Linked DNA regions of Homo sapiens: regions 1 and 2 are each linked to region 3. The links are contacts of gene promoters, found by promoter capture Hi-C in human tissues and cell types (Jung and others, 2019). All regions are on one chromosome and are shown on one strand. The core of a region is centred on a gene start or on the middle of the fragment in contact, and the rest is flanking DNA. Distances in the headings are between cores, read along the strand shown.

What was found. The method cuts DNA at HindIII sites, captures the fragments that hold promoters and counts their contacts. A contact is called where the count stands out against the background at its distance.
Region 1: a contact is called between a fragment that was not itself captured here and the fragment with the promoter of SKA2 in region 3, in 1 of the 25 tissues and cell types used here (adrenal gland).
Region 2: a fragment that was not itself captured here is called in contact with the fragment with the promoter of SKA2 in region 3 in 1 of the 25 tissues and cell types used here (spleen).

Annotation. Positions count from the first base shown.
Region 1 is chr17:59,669,932-59,672,879 of GRCh38, forward strand. All of the region lies in intron 14 of CLTC (clathrin heavy chain), which reads left to right. Among named protein-coding and RNA genes, the nearest start is that of PTRH2, 36 kb to the right of the region's middle. The HindIII fragment of the contact is 7,956 bases long and covers 1-2,948 here.
Region 2 is chr17:58,572,942-58,575,641 of GRCh38, forward strand. It overlaps TEX14 (testis expressed 14, intercellular bridge forming factor), which reads right to left. Exons shown (of 32, transcript NM_031272.5): 22 at 1,246-1,308; 23 at 240-367. LOC107985048 (a long non-coding RNA gene) reads left to right here and starts at 832. Exons shown (of 3, transcript XR_001752952.2): 1 at 832-1,322; 2 at 1,835-1,943. The HindIII fragment of the contact is 5,135 bases long and covers 1-2,700 here.
Region 3 is chr17:59,153,778-59,156,477 of GRCh38, forward strand. SKA2 (spindle and kinetochore associated complex subunit 2) reads right to left here and starts at 1,409. Exons shown (of 4, transcript NM_182620.4): 1 at 1,354-1,409. The coding sequence starts at 1,386. PRR11 (proline rich 11) reads left to right here and starts at 1,969. Exons shown (of 10, transcript NM_018304.4): 1 at 1,969-2,028. RefSeq lists enhancers at 1,197-1,436, 2,097-2,146. The HindIII fragment of the contact is 17,595 bases long and covers 1-2,700 here.

The DNA of each region.
Region 1 (2,948 bases), core at 246-2,745, 520 kb after region 3:
TAGATTAAATAGCAAAACCCTTAGGGGTTTTAGTGTAATGAAGTAGTCAAAATGTTGAAACTGCTCTACATTTTAGATTAAAAGATACACTTTTCAAAAAAGTATAGCTTTAAAATGTCTTGGCCATCATGAATATTCTGGGTAACCTAGCTGTGCTATGTTTGGACCAAAACTTTCTGGTGTCAAAAAACCCCTCCAAATGAGAAAGATTTGATACTCTGTGCTTGACTAGTGTACCCATACTACTGATTCACTTCCTTCTTTGAGTATCATTACTATTTCCTTTAAAAAAAACAACAACAAAAAAAACTACTACTAGATTCTTTTGGGGGCAGGGGGTGTTGGGTTTTTTTTTTTGTTTTTCTTTTTAAGCTTTTAAGTTCAGGGGTGCGTGGGCAGGTTTGTTATATAGGTAAACTGTGTCATGGGGGTTTGTTGTACAGATTGTTTCGTCATCCAGGTATTAAGCCTACAACCCATTAGTTATTTTTTCTGATCCTCTCCCTCCTCCCATCCTCCACCCTTCAGTAGGCCCCAGTGTCTGTTGTTCCTCTCTGTGTCCATGTGTTCTCATCATTTATCTCCCACTTGCTAGTGAGAACATGCAGTATTTGGTTTTCTGTTCCTGTGTTAATACTACCAGATTCTTAAATGATTTCTTTTTGTTTTTATTGAGCCCTCAGCTTCTATGCTTAAATTGTAACTTCTTTAGCTTTGGATTTTAATATTTGAGTTATATATATATGGAAAGCAAAATGAAATTAGCTATTATTTAATTATCACATTTTTGAGCTTTAAAAAAAATCCTCTAGTAAAGAAATGAAAAACAATCCTCTGGGTACTAGGATGGTACTGCCTTAGGTTTGCATAGCCCATGGGATCTAATCAGATGAAGATTTCCCCTCCACACTTGTGAACTGGGTACAAGCCTGATATAGTAGGGGTGTGGATGTGGATTATGAGCTTTTGAGTCAGTCAGACCTGTTTCAAATTCTACTTAGCCATTGTTTGTTCATTCAGTATATGTCTAGCTGTTACCTCAGGCAAGTTAATGAATATGCCTCAGCCTCAGTTTCTTCAACCATAAGCTATGTTTATTTATCAAGTACCTTGTATACTATAGATGTTTAGGCAGTAACTATTACTGATAAGTGATAAGCCTTGGAAAAAGGTGGAGTCAGCCTAAATGGGATTTCTGTCAGGCAAGTATTTATTTCTCTTTGATATCAATTTGTACTTGACTCTTTGAAGGAATTTACTTCCAGCCAGGATTAGAGGTGAATTTAGGGTCTTACGTCTACATAATTTGACATGGGAGCTCAATACTAAGATGCAACTATCACATTCATCCTCTGATGCCAGTGTTGAGAGTGAACTTATTAGATTCCTTGTTAACCTCCAGTACAGGGTTATGATGCCTCTTATCACTGTTATTAAACTTAATTTTAGAGGTACTAGCTACATGATAATTTACTGGTGTTGTAAGTAAACCCTGTGTCATAAGAAAAATACCCTGACTCTGATCTTGAATATTCAAGTGCCAATTGTGTGTTAGCCACCAGGAATAAAGAGATTGGTAGAACATAACTTCTCCTTTAAGGTACCCTGTGAGCAGGATAAAATTGTGTCATTAGCATCATTTGACTCATGCCCTAAGTTTGTAGAACTGTAAGCTCTCTGTAGAAAGCATATAACTGTTCATCAGACCCATGATCTGCTCCTTGCTACCTTTGATCTTATTTTCTACCTTTCTTTTTTTCTTTCTTTCCTGGTTTAGCTTCAACCACACTGGCCTGCTAGCTATTCCTGGAACTCCCCTAACCTTGTCCTGCCGAAGGGCCTTTGCTTGTGCCCTGTACTACTATTCTCTCATGACCTTCTTTCTCCTTTACCTTCTTTGGGTTTCTGATTGAATGTCAGAAGAGAGGATGTCTCAGGTTGCCTTGTGTAAAATAGAACCCATTCCTACCCCATTTTGCTTGTTTTTCTTTATAACACCACTATGAAACGTCTCCTCCCACTAGAATGTAAGTTCCTTGAGAGAATGGACTCTGCTTCCTTTGTTCCCTGCTGTATCTCCAGTACCTAAGAACAGAGTCTGATACTTGGGTACTCATAAATATTTGTTAAATGAACAAATTTATGTTGAAGAAAACCTCTGACTATGCTAATATAATTTCAAGTTTGATCTTAAAATCTTTAACCATTATAACTGGAGGTTAATTAAACATTTAGTAAGTAATTTAATATTATTAAAATGTTAACATTTCTACCATGTATAAAATCATGTGCAAATTTTAGCAATCAAGAAAATAACCTAGATTTTGTCTACTTTTTAAATCTGAAATTTTCTTTTGGAATACAGTTAGTATTCCACAAAAGTGGAATTATTTGCCACAGAAATTTTAACACCTATGCATGAAAACAGAATAAGTAATCCTAGATTATCTGTAAGTGATAAAGATAACAAAAATATTTTATATGTGTATAGGTAAGATGACTAGTGTGTTGATCCATACTTTTTTGATGTTCATTTAGTAGGAAAAACATGACATACTAAAATTTTTACATAGATAGATGCAGACAGATTCTAGAAATGATCGTAACAGCTATTAGTGCAGAGTTTCCATGGTGTTAAACAATACTTATTTTAGAAAACCTTCCTTAATGTGGAAAATCTGCAGCTTTACAGACATTTTTATTTTTTAATTTAGGATGGCTATATTAAAATTAAGATTTACCTTGGTGTTCTTGGGACACTTCATAGACTAGTCTTCGTATTATTTATAATCGAGTAACTAATATCCCCTAGTCTCAGGAGCCATTTAATTCTAACCTTGAAAATAATGTTCTTAGTGGCCATCACTGGGGAAAGTTCTACCCTACTTAGTTCTGCTTCCCTAGTAGACTGTGTTAGAGGAATCATTTATTGAGGAATGTTTCACTGT
Region 2 (2,700 bases), core at 108-2,607, 580 kb before region 3:
TTTGCATGGCTTTACCACTGCAGTTCTAACCAAAACCTCCTAACGGCTGCCCAATAATCACCACCACCATCACCCCGCCCCCTGGCCTACAATGGGATTACCCAGTTTTGGCCCTAAAGAAAAACCTTTGCACTATGACAACACAGCCACCAGCTCTGATACCACGGCTTGGCTTCCCAGAGACAATGGGCTGGGGCTGTAAGTCCTTCTCCCCAAACACTTCTCTTCCCTGTGATTACCTGGGCTGAGTGGAGTGCTGACACTGGTAGGTGCATGGTTTATTTTGGGTGTTTTGCATGAAGCTTCCTTAAAAGAGCTGTCTGGTTCATAGGAGATACTAGACAGGTCTTGAATATCCGTCAATGATCTAAAGAATTAAGAGCACACAGTAATGATGAGAAGATGACTAGAAAAATCAAACAATATATTCCTGAGAGGTACTTTTTAAGTATAATCTTAACAAAATTTGTATGTGGCAATAGGCCAGAATTAGAGAATATCTTAGAACATCTTATGTATCTTAAAGAGAATATTAGAGAACATATTTAAAAGAGATTGTAACTTTATTACCAAAGAGACTTTTTTTTGGCGGCAGGGACAGAGTTTTGCTCTTGTCACCCAGGATGGAGTGCAATGGCATGATCTCGGCTCACTGCAACCTCCGCCTCCCGGGTTCAAGTGATTCTCCTGCCTCAGCCTCCTGGGTAGCTGGGACTACAAGCGTGTGCCACCATGCCTGGCTAATTTTAGTATTTTTAGTAGAGATGGGATTTTACCATGTTGGCCAGGCTGGTCACGAACTCCTGATCTCAGGTGATCCGCCCACCTCAGCCTCCCAAAGTGCTGGGATTACAGGCATGAGCCACCACACCTGGCACCATAGAGACTTTCTTTGCTAGATACTGTAACTTTAAACATATCAGCAGCTAAAAATAAACTATTTCCATAGATGAAATATTCCATATTTCCAGGATATTTACGTGGAAAACAGATTTAATCTACCTTAAGCGTAAACTTATTATTATTATGATTATTATTATCATCACTACATTTCCTTGAGTGTAAGCTGCTATTAGTTATAAATCATATCACCAATTTGATAACAACTTTTTGGTGAAAGAAGCAGCATACTCACATTAAGTCTACACGTAAAAATGGAAAGATCCTTACAAACAAGAATATACTATTCCCTTAAAACCAAGACTTTACACAAGCATCCCTAGGCATTCTCTTTGGTGATCATACATGTCTTTCTCTTTCAGTTCCTTTGGTGACTCCTTTGATGTCTCTTCTTGTTCATCTTCAGTACTGTGAGAAAGAAAGTAAGAAAATTACATAAATCCCCTCTGTGAACAAAGTACACTAACTACTTGCTACAAGGAACCAGTTGATCAGCCCAGTGTGAGACGCAGAGGAAAGGGCACTAAGCTCAGGAGTAGAAAGTGTGAGTTCTGTGCCAGGCACGTTGGCTCACGTCTGTAATCCCAGCACTTTGGGAGGCCAAAGCGGGTGGGTCACGAGGTCAACAGATCGAGACCATCCTGGCCAACATGGTGAAACCCCGTCTCTACTAAAAATACAAAAATTAGCTGGGCTTGGTAGCACGTGCCTGTAGTTCCAGCTACTCGGGAGGCTGAGACAGGAATTGCTTGAACCCAGGAGGCGGAGGTTGCAGTGAGCTGAGATCGCGCCATTGCACTCCAGCCTGGGCAGCAAGAATGAGACTCCATCTCCAAAAAAAAAAAAAAAAAAAAAAAAAAGTGTGAGTTCTGGTTCTGGCTGTACTACTAGCTGCGAGTTCTCTGACATGTCTGGGCCTCATTTTTCTCTCCAGAGTTGAATAAATACTCTCTAAGGGTCAGCTCTGAAATCAGTTAAAGACTCTATACGACTGTGAGCAAATTCATGAGAAAATCAACAGAGCACAGGAACTTTGCTGGGAGGTAAGATATTGGAGCAAAGGGGCACAGCCATGAGGCCTCAGCACCTGTAAGAAGCTTCCTGGCATAGTGTACCAGGAGAGGCCAGAGAGGCTTGTACCAAAAAATGGCCAGAATAGTGAAGACAAACTTGACCTGTTTCTACTTTAACCAATATTTAAGATTCAATGTCAGTACTCACTGAACATTAACTATAAGGCAGATCCCATGCTAAATCCTTCCATGTTTTCACTTTTTTTTTTTTTTTTTTGAGATGGAGTCTCACTCTTGTTGCCCAGGCTGGAGTGCAATGGCGCGATCTCAGCTCACTGCAACCTTCGCCTCCTGGGTTCAAGTGATTCTCCTGCCTCAGCCTCCCAAGTAGCTGGCATTACAGGCATGCGCCACCACGCCCGGCTAATTTTCTGTATTTTTAGTAGAGACGGGGTTTCTCCATGTTGGTCAGGCTGATCTCAAACTCCTGACCTCAGGTGATCTGCCTGCCTCGGCCTCCCAAAGTGCTAAGATTACAGGTGTGAGCCACTGTGCCTGTCCTTCACATTTTTAATCCTTGCAAAAATCCTCTGAGACCAGTGATATAAATGAAAGATCATGGATTTGGGGTTGAGTTGTGACTTTATTAATTCTGTTACCAAAAATGTTTGTTTCTCCTTCTAAATAATACAACAGGACTTTTTGGCCCTCTTGATTTACATAAATGACCACAGAACTTGTTTTAACCAATAAAATATGAGTGAAAGTGATGAGTCACTTCTGGGCA
Region 3 (2,700 bases), core at 159-2,658:
TAATCTTTTTTTTTTTTGAGACGTTGTCTCTGTCGCAAGGCCGGAGTACAGTGACGCGATCTCGGCTCACTGCAACCTCCGTCTCCCAGGTTGAAGCGATCCTCCTGCCTCAGCCTCCCGAGTAGCTGGGACTACAGGCGCGTGCCATCACACCCGGCTAATTTTTTTATTTTTAGTATAGACGGAGTTTCACCATGTTGGCCAGGGTAGTCTCAATGTCTTGACCTCTTGATCCGCCCGCCTCGGCCTCCCAAAGTGCCGGGATTACAGGCGTGAGCCACCGCGCCCGGCCAATCGTATTTAACAGACAAGCAAACAAACAAAAAAAGACAGGAGCTCAGTGGCAGGCGCTTCCTCCAAAGTCCAGGTTTTTAAGGAAAGCAGCCCAACCTGGGAAAAAAAAAAAAAAAGAAAAGAAAAGAAAAAAAAGATAATGCTGAACGAAAAGGGCTGAAGACAGAACAAGGACACTAAGAGGAAAAAAGCGCGGGCGATCAAGCTGGTAATCTAAGGATGGGAGGGAGGGAATAAAGAGAACAAGTGAGGGACGGATCCTTAAAGAAAACTAGGACAGCCCCCCAGCTGGGCGCCCCCCGAGCAGGCCAAACACGCCAGCAACAACGGGAGTGCTTTCCAATTCTTCGCCCCCGTTTTCTACTTTCACAGATGAATGAAAGTGCACAACTCCAGAGCAGGATGCCTTTCCTGTCTCAATCCCGCCCGCGCTCCGGGAGCGGAGCTCGTGGTTACGATCCCCTTCGCTCACACCTCTTCCCTCACCCACGGTTTGCCACCTCCGGATCAAACAGAAACGGGTTCCTTGGCCGTTAGGAAGTTGTGCATACAAGTCTAGCATCCTTTCTCAGACTTTCTCGGCCCGCCTTTTAGAACGTGAGCGGGTTGGCCCTACAGGGATTTCTCCTCGCCCCCGTCAGTTTATTCCCCACCCCACCCTCCGTTCCCCTTTCTTGGAGTGTGAACCACCTCTCCCTTCTTGGGACGCTTAGGGACCGTTCCATTCACATCTTTTTTGGTACAAACACAGAATGCGGTCTGCACCCGGCGCAGTTTCGTAAGGGGTGTAAAGGTGAGGGCAAGGAACAAGGAATTCCAAAGGCCCCGCACCCTCAGCATCTCCCGCCATTTCCCTGACGAGTTTCCCGGATGTAACCCCTTACCCGAGGCGGTTTAGACACCAGACGGTGGCGGCTCCCTTTGGTGCAGGAGGAGGGAACTCGACTCTGGTCCAGCCTCCGCCGCCCGGAGTTTCCGGCGACTCCAAATTGTGCCCCACCTCCGAGGCCATGGGGGAAAAATAAACTACCCAGTAGATCTCCTTCACTTTGCACTCACCATCAGTTCCAGCTTATCGACCTCCGCCTCCATGTTGAATAGTTGACATTCCGCAGACCGCGGCGGCGCTTAAGCCGCAAGCCGTACTAGCACGGAGGGCCTCCATTGGACAGCTGTCACTCAACATCTCGCACTCATTGGCTCCTCCGTTCCACCGGCTCCCGCCCATTGGAGACTGGGTAACGCCCCTCTGCATGAGACACATTTTCCTGTTGGGCAAAGGCACAAAACGCCGCAGGAGGATTGGCTGCTGTGCAAATTTTTTTTTCCATTGGCTGCCCCCTCCTCTCTACTTTCAATTTTGTAGTTAGGGCTCTGCAGAGAAGAGCTTGAGATTGGTGCAATTGGAAGAAGAGCCAACCAATCACACCAGAGCTTCCACCGACAGCAGAGGGGACGTAACACACCTTCTTTCCCCTCCGGCTTTCCTTCCCCTTCTCTCCCGCCTTCTCCTTATTCATACCAGAAGCGCCTCAGCTCTGATTGGCTGGAGCTCTGTGCTATCTCAGCCAATCACAAGCCGGGCTGTGCTCCTACACCATCCGAAGAGCGAATCGTGCAGAGACCGTGTCTACGATTGGCCTCTCCCTGACAAGGATTTAATTTTGAATTTTTCTTTATGGCGTGGGAGAGGCCACAGCCCGGACTCCATCGACTCCCCCGGCTCTTAGACTAGTAAGTGCAGGAACGATTATTTCTTTGTTATCTGAGCTCGCGTCTTGAGTAGCTGGGCCTGTTGCTGCTTGTGTTTTTATGGTTTAGGGAGGTGGGGACTTTGGCTGGACACGAAGGGGAAATGGAAAGGAGGAAGGGGAGGTTTGGGGCTGGGGAAGAAGTGCTCGGCCTGGCTTCATCTTAACCATACTTCTATTTAATTAACACTTCGCAAGATACGTTTTGGAGCAAAGCATCTGCCTTCCTTTTGAACATTTCTTTACATATTTGCTGCTCAATGCAAGTCCACAGATCAGCGGCATCCGCATCTCTTGTTTGCTTGTTACAAATGCAAATTATCGGACTCCACCCAAATTTACTAAATCAGAATATACATTTTAACAAGATTTCCCTGAGTGATTTCTATGCACATTAAAGTTTAAGTTGGTACATTTCTTGACTGGGAATATTACTATGTTACTCGATATTGTCTGGCATGCTGTTAGAGTGTCAATTTTAAATGCGTGTCCTGTTTACTGAGTGCCTAATACTGTGCGGGATGAGACTTTAGGGAGCTGCAGTCTCTTTGGAAAAACAAGACAGAACAAAAACAGCAATGCTTAAAAAAAAAAAAGCATAAAACATAAAATTTAAAAAAAGCAAGTACCCAGAAATAGTGCTATGGGTGTTCAA